Linked DNA regions of Homo sapiens: region 1 is linked to region 2. The links are contacts of gene promoters, found by promoter capture Hi-C in human tissues and cell types (Jung and others, 2019). All regions are on one chromosome and are shown on one strand. Each heading gives the region's core, a stretch centred on a gene start or on the middle of the fragment in contact. The rest is flanking DNA. Distances are from core to core; before and after follow the strand shown.

Region 1 (3,831 bases), core at 979-3,478, 640 kb before region 2:
TTTCTTTTTCTTTTCTTTCTTTTTTTTTTGGGGGGGGGAGATAGTCTCCCTCTGTCACCCAGGCTATAGTGCAGTGGCTCTATCTCGGCTCACTGCAACCTCTGCCTGCCAGGTTCAAGCAATTCGCCTGCCTCAGCCTCGAGTAGCTGGGACTACAGGCACCCGCCACAACCCCTGGCTAATTTTTGTATTTTTAGTAGAGACGGGTTTTCACCATGTTGGCCAGGCTGGTCTCAAACTCCTGACCTCAGGTGATCCGCCCGTCTCTGCCTGCCAGTGTTGGGATTACAGGCGTGAGCCACCACGCCCGGCCGGTATGCAGTTGTTTTTTTTTTTTTTGAGACGGAGTCTCGCTCTTTCGCCCAGGCCGGACTGCAGTGGCACTATCTCAGCTCACTGCAACCTGTGCCTCCTGGGTTCATGCCATTCTCCGGCCTCATCCTCCTGAGTAGCTGGGACTACAGGCATCCGCCACTGCACCCAGCTAAGTTTTTGCATTTTTAGTAGAGACAGGGTTTCACCGTATTAGCCAGGATGGTCCCAATCTCCTGACCTTGTGATCTGCCTGCTTGGCCTCCCAAAGTGCTGGGATTACAGGCATGAGCCACCGCGCCCAGCCCCAGTATGCAGTTTTTTTAAAAAAAAAAATCTTAGTAGCTATCTTTTTAAGGAATAGAATGGGGGGCAGGTTTGCCCTAAGCAGTTCCCAGCTTGACTTTTCTTTGGCTTAGTGATTTTGGGGTCCCAAGATTTATTTTCCTTTCACCGGGCTTATGTTCTAGTGTCGCAAGCACTAGCAAGAAAATAGACAAACTAGTTGTGAATTTGGTCGGTACTTTAAGGAAACTAAACAGCGAGCTAAGGCAGAGCTACAGAGGACTCGAGTGGAAAACCTGATGCTGTCTTTCTCCCCACCCTACACATAGCCCCTTATTTGTTCTTTCCTGGTGTCTGAGTTTTTTTCTGGTTAGAATACCTTTCGTTTCACTCCCTCTACCTTGTCAATTCAAATACTACTCCCCTCAGGAAACTTTTGTTTTGTTTTTTTGAGACAGGGTCTCACTTTGTCACCTGGTCAACCAGGCTGGAGTGCAGTGGTGCAACCTTGGCTCACTGCAACCTCTGCCTCCCGGGTTCAAGCAATCCTCATGCCTCAGCCTCCCAAGTAGCTGGGATTACAGACATGCATCACTACGCCCAGCGAACTTTTGTATTTTTAGTAGAGACAGGGTTTTGCCATGTTGGGCCAGGCTGGTCTTGAACTCCTGGCGACAGGTGATCCTCCCACCTCATCCTCTTAAAGTGCTAGGATTATAGGCATAAGCCACGGTGCCCAGCCCTGTATTCACTTTTTAAATCCCCACTGGTGTAAGGTGCTGTGAAGAAGAGACAAAGTTGTCGATACAGATCTCCTCCCTCCAGGACCCTGCAGTCTTCTTAGGGATTTTATTCATATATGCAGATAACTATAATACAGAGTGAGGTGAGGGCCGTAAGAAAGGAAGTGTGAAGAGATCATTGCTGACAAGGAAAGATCAGAAAAGGGTTTCCTAGCCGAGTGCAGTGGCTCACACCTGTAATTCCAGCACTTTGGGAGGCCGAGGCAGGTGGATTGATTGAGCTCAGGAGTTTAAAACCAGCGTGGTCAACGTGGTGAAACCCTGTCTCTACTAAAAAAAAAAACTACAGAAATTAGCTGGGTGTGGTGGTGCAGCTCTGTAGTCCCAGCTACTGGTGGGGAGTGGGGCGGCTGTGGCGGGAGGATTGCTTGAGCCTGGGAGGTGGAGGTTGCAGTCAGCTGTGGCTGTGATTGCGCCACTGTACTTCAGCTTGGGCAACAGAGTGAAACCCTGTCTCAAAACAAAACCCAAACTCAAGACATTAAAATACTTTGAAAAATAAAAAAAGGCTGTAGAAATAGAAATTACTTTTACCCAAGTGTGGTGGTGAGTGCCTGTAGTCCCAGCTACTCGGGAGGCTGAGGCGGGAGGATGACTTGAGCCCAGGAGTTGGAGTTCGGCCTGGGTAACATGGGAGACCCCATCTCCTTAAAACAAACAAACAAAAAACCTTGCTTTTAAATCATAATTATAGCAAACACCACTCTGGGAATCTGCCCACATGGATGGCTAAGAATGGAGCTTGCTTTTCCAACCCTGTGATACAGGGAAGAGTAAAGTCTGCTTATCTATTTAAATAGCAAAATTTGAGGTTGTGGCCTTGATTTTCTGTTATCTTCCTTTCTCCATCAACTACCTGTGATCAGGGCCGGGCGCGGTGGCTCACACCTGTAATCTCAGCACTTTGGGAGGCCGAGGCGGGCGGATCACGAGGTCAGGCGATTGAGACCATCCTGGCTAACACGGTGAAACCCCGTCTCTACTAAAAATACAAAAAATTAGCTGGGCGAGGTGGCGGGCGCCTGTAGTCCCAGCTACTCGGGAGGCTGAGGCAGGAGAATGGCTTGAACCCGGGAGGCGGAGCCTGCAGTGAGCGGAGATCGCCCCACTGCACTCCAGCCTGGGCGACAGCGAGACTCCATCTCAAAACAAACAAATAAACAACAACAACAACAACAAAAAAAAAACAAAAAAAACTACCTGTGATCACAAGATGAAACAAGTATGCTGAAGCTTGGACTTTTGCACTGATTTCTACAGAACAGAGTAGTTCAGAGCCAGAACGCCTCTGCTGCCTGCTCTACTTCCTTGTTTCCCTTGACAAATTACTGAACCACCCTGCCTTAATTTCCTCATGGGGTTGTTAAGTACAACACATGTGAAACAGCCCTGAAAATAATGCCTGGTACAAAGCAAACAATCATTATCAAAAGTTGTAGTAATCCACTGTGCTTCCTGGTACAGGGCACGCCAGAGTTCCCGGGAGCTAATCTTGATTGCTGGTGCTCCGTGTGGTTGTTGTGTACAAAGAAATTACCATGGAGGGAACATGGAGATGGGAAAGGGCTGGTGCAATGGGCAGAATGAAGAGGTGTCTGAAGAACCAACAACCTGAGGCTAGGCAGGAACATCTGGCAGCTCTCAGAGAGGTTTAGCAGTCCTTACTCAAGTGCAACTGACTGTGAGGTGCACTAAAGAGTGAAAGGCAGAGAAAGGCCTCCCTGCCTTAGTCTTGGCCTTCATCTTCTTAACTAATGAAAAGAAGCTGGGTGCTTGCTTTGGCAGCACATACACCAAAATTGGAACAATATACAGAAGATTAGCATGGCCCCTGCACAAGAATGACACTCAAATTTGTGTTCTGTATTAAAAAAAAAAAAAAAAAAAAAAAAGGCTGGGCATGGTGGTTCATGCTTGTAATCCCAGCACTTTGGGAGGCCGAGGCGGGTGGATCACCTGAGGTTAGGAGTTCGAGACCAGCCTGGCCAACATGATGAAACCCCGTATCTACTGAAAAAAATACAAAAAATTAGCCGAGTGTGGTGGCATGCACCTGTAATCCCAGCTACTTGAGAGGCTGAGGCAGGAGAATCGCTTTGAACCTGGAAGGCGGAGGCTGCAGTGAGCCGAGATTGCGCCACTGCACTCCAGCCTCGGCAACAAGAGTGAAACTCCGTCTCAAAAGAAAAAAAAAAAAGTTGGGAAAAACATGGTTCTCCAGGGCCGTGGCAAGCCAGGCTTCTGCACTACTGCCAAGAGGAGTGAACTTGAGCTGCTTTTCGTTTCCTCCACACAACATGGTGAGGAGCCAAAGGAAGACAGTGATCTAAGTCATTCCCCACCTTCAGGCGGCACCATCCCTGTTTTCAAATCCCTAACTGCCTCACTCCCCTAAAGCATTTTTTCCCCGCTGGAAACAGACTGGAACACA
Region 2 (4,058 bases), core at 87-2,586:
AAATGGGAAGGCTGTGGGTTCCTGCCCACACTGTCATCGAAACCTTTCTTGCTTAGAACTAGCTCCACATGCTGCCATAGGAATTCCCGAAGAGTGAAATCCACTAGCTGGCCTGAAGAACTGGAACTGCTGCTGTCAATGTGAAAGGAAAGTTGTTGTCGGCTGTGCTGCCTCATCACCTGGTATCGCCTAGGCCCAGAAAGGGGTGCAGGCACCAGCAAAGATTCCGGGTCCTTCACAGTACAATGACTCCTAAGTTGGTCCAGCAACATACCTACTGGGTCCTCCTCCTGGCTTCCCGGTACTATGTACACGAAAGCTTGGTTGGCAGGCACAGTAAAGAGGCAGTTGATGCTCTGATTAGTCAAGACACGACTCTTCCGGAAGATTCTATAGATCTGGTCCTCCAGGGCATGCTGCAGCCTCCTTTTGGGAGAATGTTTCTTGGGCTTGTCTGGATGAGCTGGGTCTTGGTTCCGAGGAGGTTCTACCTTGAGGGCTCCATTGAGTTGAAAGAGGAAAAGGAGTCTAGGTGGGCAAGGTCGGCAGTTTAGCTTCCAGTCTTTGCCAACTGGACAATCCTTAATGGCTGTTTTAAGGAGCGGCAGGACCTTCTGTCTCAGCCCATCCAGGGCTCTGAATACTCGATCATAAGTGATATCAAAGGAACAAGTGGGATGGACCAGAAGCAAGATATGACAGACAGAGAATAGGTAAAGGAGACTGAGGCACTGCAGCTTCTCTTGATGCTTCCAGAACTCGTGTGCTTCTGCATGAGGTAAAGAGAGTCCACCTCCAGCTTCCCCGCTCTGAAGAGCCCGACAAGCCCGGAGAAGCTGTGAATTGTCACAGATGGAGGTGAGGAGAAGATACAGAACTTTGCTTTCCTGACTGTAGTAGGCCTGCAGAAGGCTGTAGTCCTGGGAGCCTGCCTCAGTTCGGTTACCTTCCGCGACAGCTCCACTTCCCCGAACTGAACCCCCGGCTGCAGCCCCAGGGTCCTCGGCTCCACCGGCCTCACCCACGGCGCCAGCCTCAGTTCTGATTCCAGGTCCTGGATCCCCAGGATCTTGGTGGCGAAAGAGAGGAAAGACCTGTCGGTCGCACACCGTATTCACAAGAGAGAACTTCTCGGAATTCAGGCGTAGAGCCGTCTTGCCGAAGATTCCCACAACGCAGATCTCATCCTCCCGCCATGGAGGCTCCGGTCCGCCAGCCGCGCTCCCTCCGCCCTCAGTAGGGGACCCTCCGGGACTTTCAGAGCCCATCCAGGCTGATGCTCCCATTAGAAGGTCTCGCAAGCTCACGGGACCAGCCATAGTGCAGAGCGTTCTCTAGAGTCCTTCCGGTCCGTTAGTAAAACCGACCGGCTTTCGTCCAATTTTGAAATCCTTCCTCCGCTTCTTCAGTTCCTGCTTTCCCGTCACTTGAGTTCCGCCTCCTCTTCTCCTCTCCTAGTTTGTTTCCTCAACTGTAGGAATTGAGATATCAAAAACAAAAAACAAAAAAACAAAACAAAACTGGGACTACTGCGGTGGCTCACGCCTGTAATCCTAGCACTTTGGGAGGCCAAGGCGGGCGGATCACCTGAAGTCAGGAGTTCGAGACCAGGCTGGCCAACATGGTGAAACCCCATCTCTACTAAAAATACGAAAATTAGCCGGGCGTGGTGGCGGGCGCCTGTAATCCCAGCTACTCGGGAGGCTGAGGCAGGACAATCGCTTGAACCCGGGAGGCGGAAGTTGCAGTGAACCGAGATCACACCATTGCACTCCAGCCTGGGCAACAAGAGCGAAAACCGTCTAAAAAAAAAAAAAAAAAAAAAAAAAAAAGCAAAAATTAGGCGTGGTGGCGCATACCTGTAGTTCCAGCTGCTCAGGAGGCTGAGGCAGGAGAATTGCTCGAACCAGGAGGTGGAGGTTGCAGTGAGCCGAGATCACCCCGCTGCACTCCAGCCTGGGCGACAGAGTGAGACTCCGTCTCAAAAAAAAAAAAAATTGCGAAATATCTTTGTATGTAAATTATAACTTGCAGAACCTCTCTAACTAGAAGGCATATTGACAAATAGCTGCCAGGATAAAACTTACAACCAGATTTAAATGTATAATTATAACGTTTATTATTCTGGGGTTTTGTAAAAAATAAAAATCTTTGAATCTAAAAAAATTATCTATAGCACTATACAATAACATGACTGAATCTTTAAAATAAATGTTGATTGAAAGAAATCAGAAACAAAAGTGTATATACCCTATAATTCTATTTTTTTTTTTTTTTTTTTTTTTTTTTGGAGATGCAGTCTTGCTCTGTGGCCAGGCTAGAGTTCAGTGGCGCGATCTCGACTCACTGCAACCTCCGGCTCCCCGGTGCAAGTGATTCTCTTGCCTCAGCCTCCCAAGTAGCTGGGATTACAGGTGCGTGAGACCACACCCAGCTAACTTTTGTATTTTTAATAGAGACAGGATTTCACCATGTTGGCCAGGATAGTCTCAATCTCCTGATCTCATGATCTGCCCGCCTCGGCCTCCCAAAGTGGTGGGATTACAGGCGAGAGCCACTGCGCCAGGCCTGATTTTATTTCTATAGAGTTCAAAAGCAAGCAAAATAAACCATTGCATTTAGGGGTGTGTTCTTACTAAAAGCAAGGAAATATTTATTGTACCAAGTAGGTCAGTGATTACTTAGTGAGGGAAGGGATTATGATATAATATATATATTATATATATACATAATAATATATATTACACATATACATAATAATATATATTATATATATACATAATAATATATATTATATATATTTTGAGACAGAGTCTTGCTCTGTTGCCCAGAGTGGAGTACAGTGGTGCAATCTAAGCTCACTGCAAACTCCACCTCCCAGGTTCAAGTGATTCTACTGCCTCAGCCTCCCAAGGAGCTGGGATTACAGGTGCACCACCATGGGCGGCTAATTTTTGTATTTTTAGTAGAGATGGTGTTTCACCATGTTGGCCAGGCTGGTCTCGAACTCCCGACCTCACATCATCCACCCACCTCGGCCTCCCAAAGTGCTGGGATTACAGGTGTCAGCCACCACACCTCGCCTCCGGCCTAAAATTTTTTTTTTTTTTTTTTGTGAGACAGAGTCTCACTCTGTCACCCAGGCTGAAGTGCAGTGGTGCTATCTGGGATCACGGCAACCTCCATCTCCTATTCCCTGTCTCCGTCTCCTCAAGCAATTCTTCTGCCTCAGCCTCCCAAGTAGCTGGGATTACAAGCACGTACCACCACGCCCACCTAAACTTGTATTTTTAGTAGAGATGGGGTTTCCCCACGTTAGCCAGGCTGGTCTCGAACTTCCAACCCCAGGTGATCTGCCCACCCCGGCCTCCCAAAGTGCTGGGATTATAGGTTTGAGCCATCACGCTCGGCATTGATTTTTTAATTCATATATTTTCTATACTTACTATATACTTTTTTGTTTTTTTGAGACAGAGTCTCACTCTGTTGCCCAGGCTGGAGTGCAGTGGCGTGATCTCAGCTCCCTGCAAGCTCTGCCTCCCGGGTTCATGCCATTCTCCTGCCTCAGCCTCCCAAGTAGCTGGGACTACAGGCGCCTGCCACCACGCCCGGCTAATTTTTTGTATTTTTAGTAGAGACCAGGTTTCACCGTGTTAGCCAGGATGGTCTTGATCTTCTGACCTCATGATCCACCTGCCTTGGGCTCCCAAAGTGCTGGGATTACAGGCGTGAGCCACTGCGCCCGGCCAATATATACTTTTCTATAGGTATTATTATTTCTAGTTAAAAAAAAAGGTTAAAAAGGGAAAAACCAAAACTTTTATTAATCTTTATTTAAAGATGCAAGGTAGAACACATTTTAACACTGTACAATGGCAGTAGCAGCTTTGCAAATGTTTATCTATATGGACTTTTTTTTCCTGCCTGGCTTCGTTATATAGCAAAGCATTTTTCTTTTTTCTTTCTTTTTTTTTTTTTTTTTTTTTTGAGACAGCATCTTGCTCTGTCACCCAGCAGGCTGGAGTGCAGGTGGTATGAACACTGCTCGCTGGAGCCTC

Evidence for each region. The method cuts DNA at HindIII sites, captures the fragments that hold promoters and counts their contacts. A contact is called where the count stands out against the background at its distance.
Region 1: a fragment that was not itself captured here is called in contact with the fragment with the promoter of SMG8 in region 2 in 1 of the 25 tissues and cell types used here (dorsolateral prefrontal cortex).

Annotation. Positions count from the first base shown.
Region 1 is chr17:59,846,883-59,850,713 of GRCh38, reverse strand. It overlaps the pseudogene RNU6-450P. Among named protein-coding and RNA genes, the nearest start is that of MIR21, 7.5 kb to the right of the region's middle. RefSeq lists enhancers at 1,327-1,646, 3,187-3,831 and a silencer at 3,049-3,148. The HindIII fragment of the contact is 8,201 bases long and covers 1-3,831 here.
Region 2 is chr17:59,207,313-59,211,370 of GRCh38, reverse strand. SMG8 (SMG8 nonsense mediated mRNA decay factor) reads right to left here and starts at 1,336. Exons shown (of 4, transcript NM_018149.7): 1 at 1-1,336. The coding sequence starts at 1,319. RefSeq lists an enhancer at 1,458-1,527. The HindIII fragment of the contact is 6,268 bases long and covers 67-4,058 here.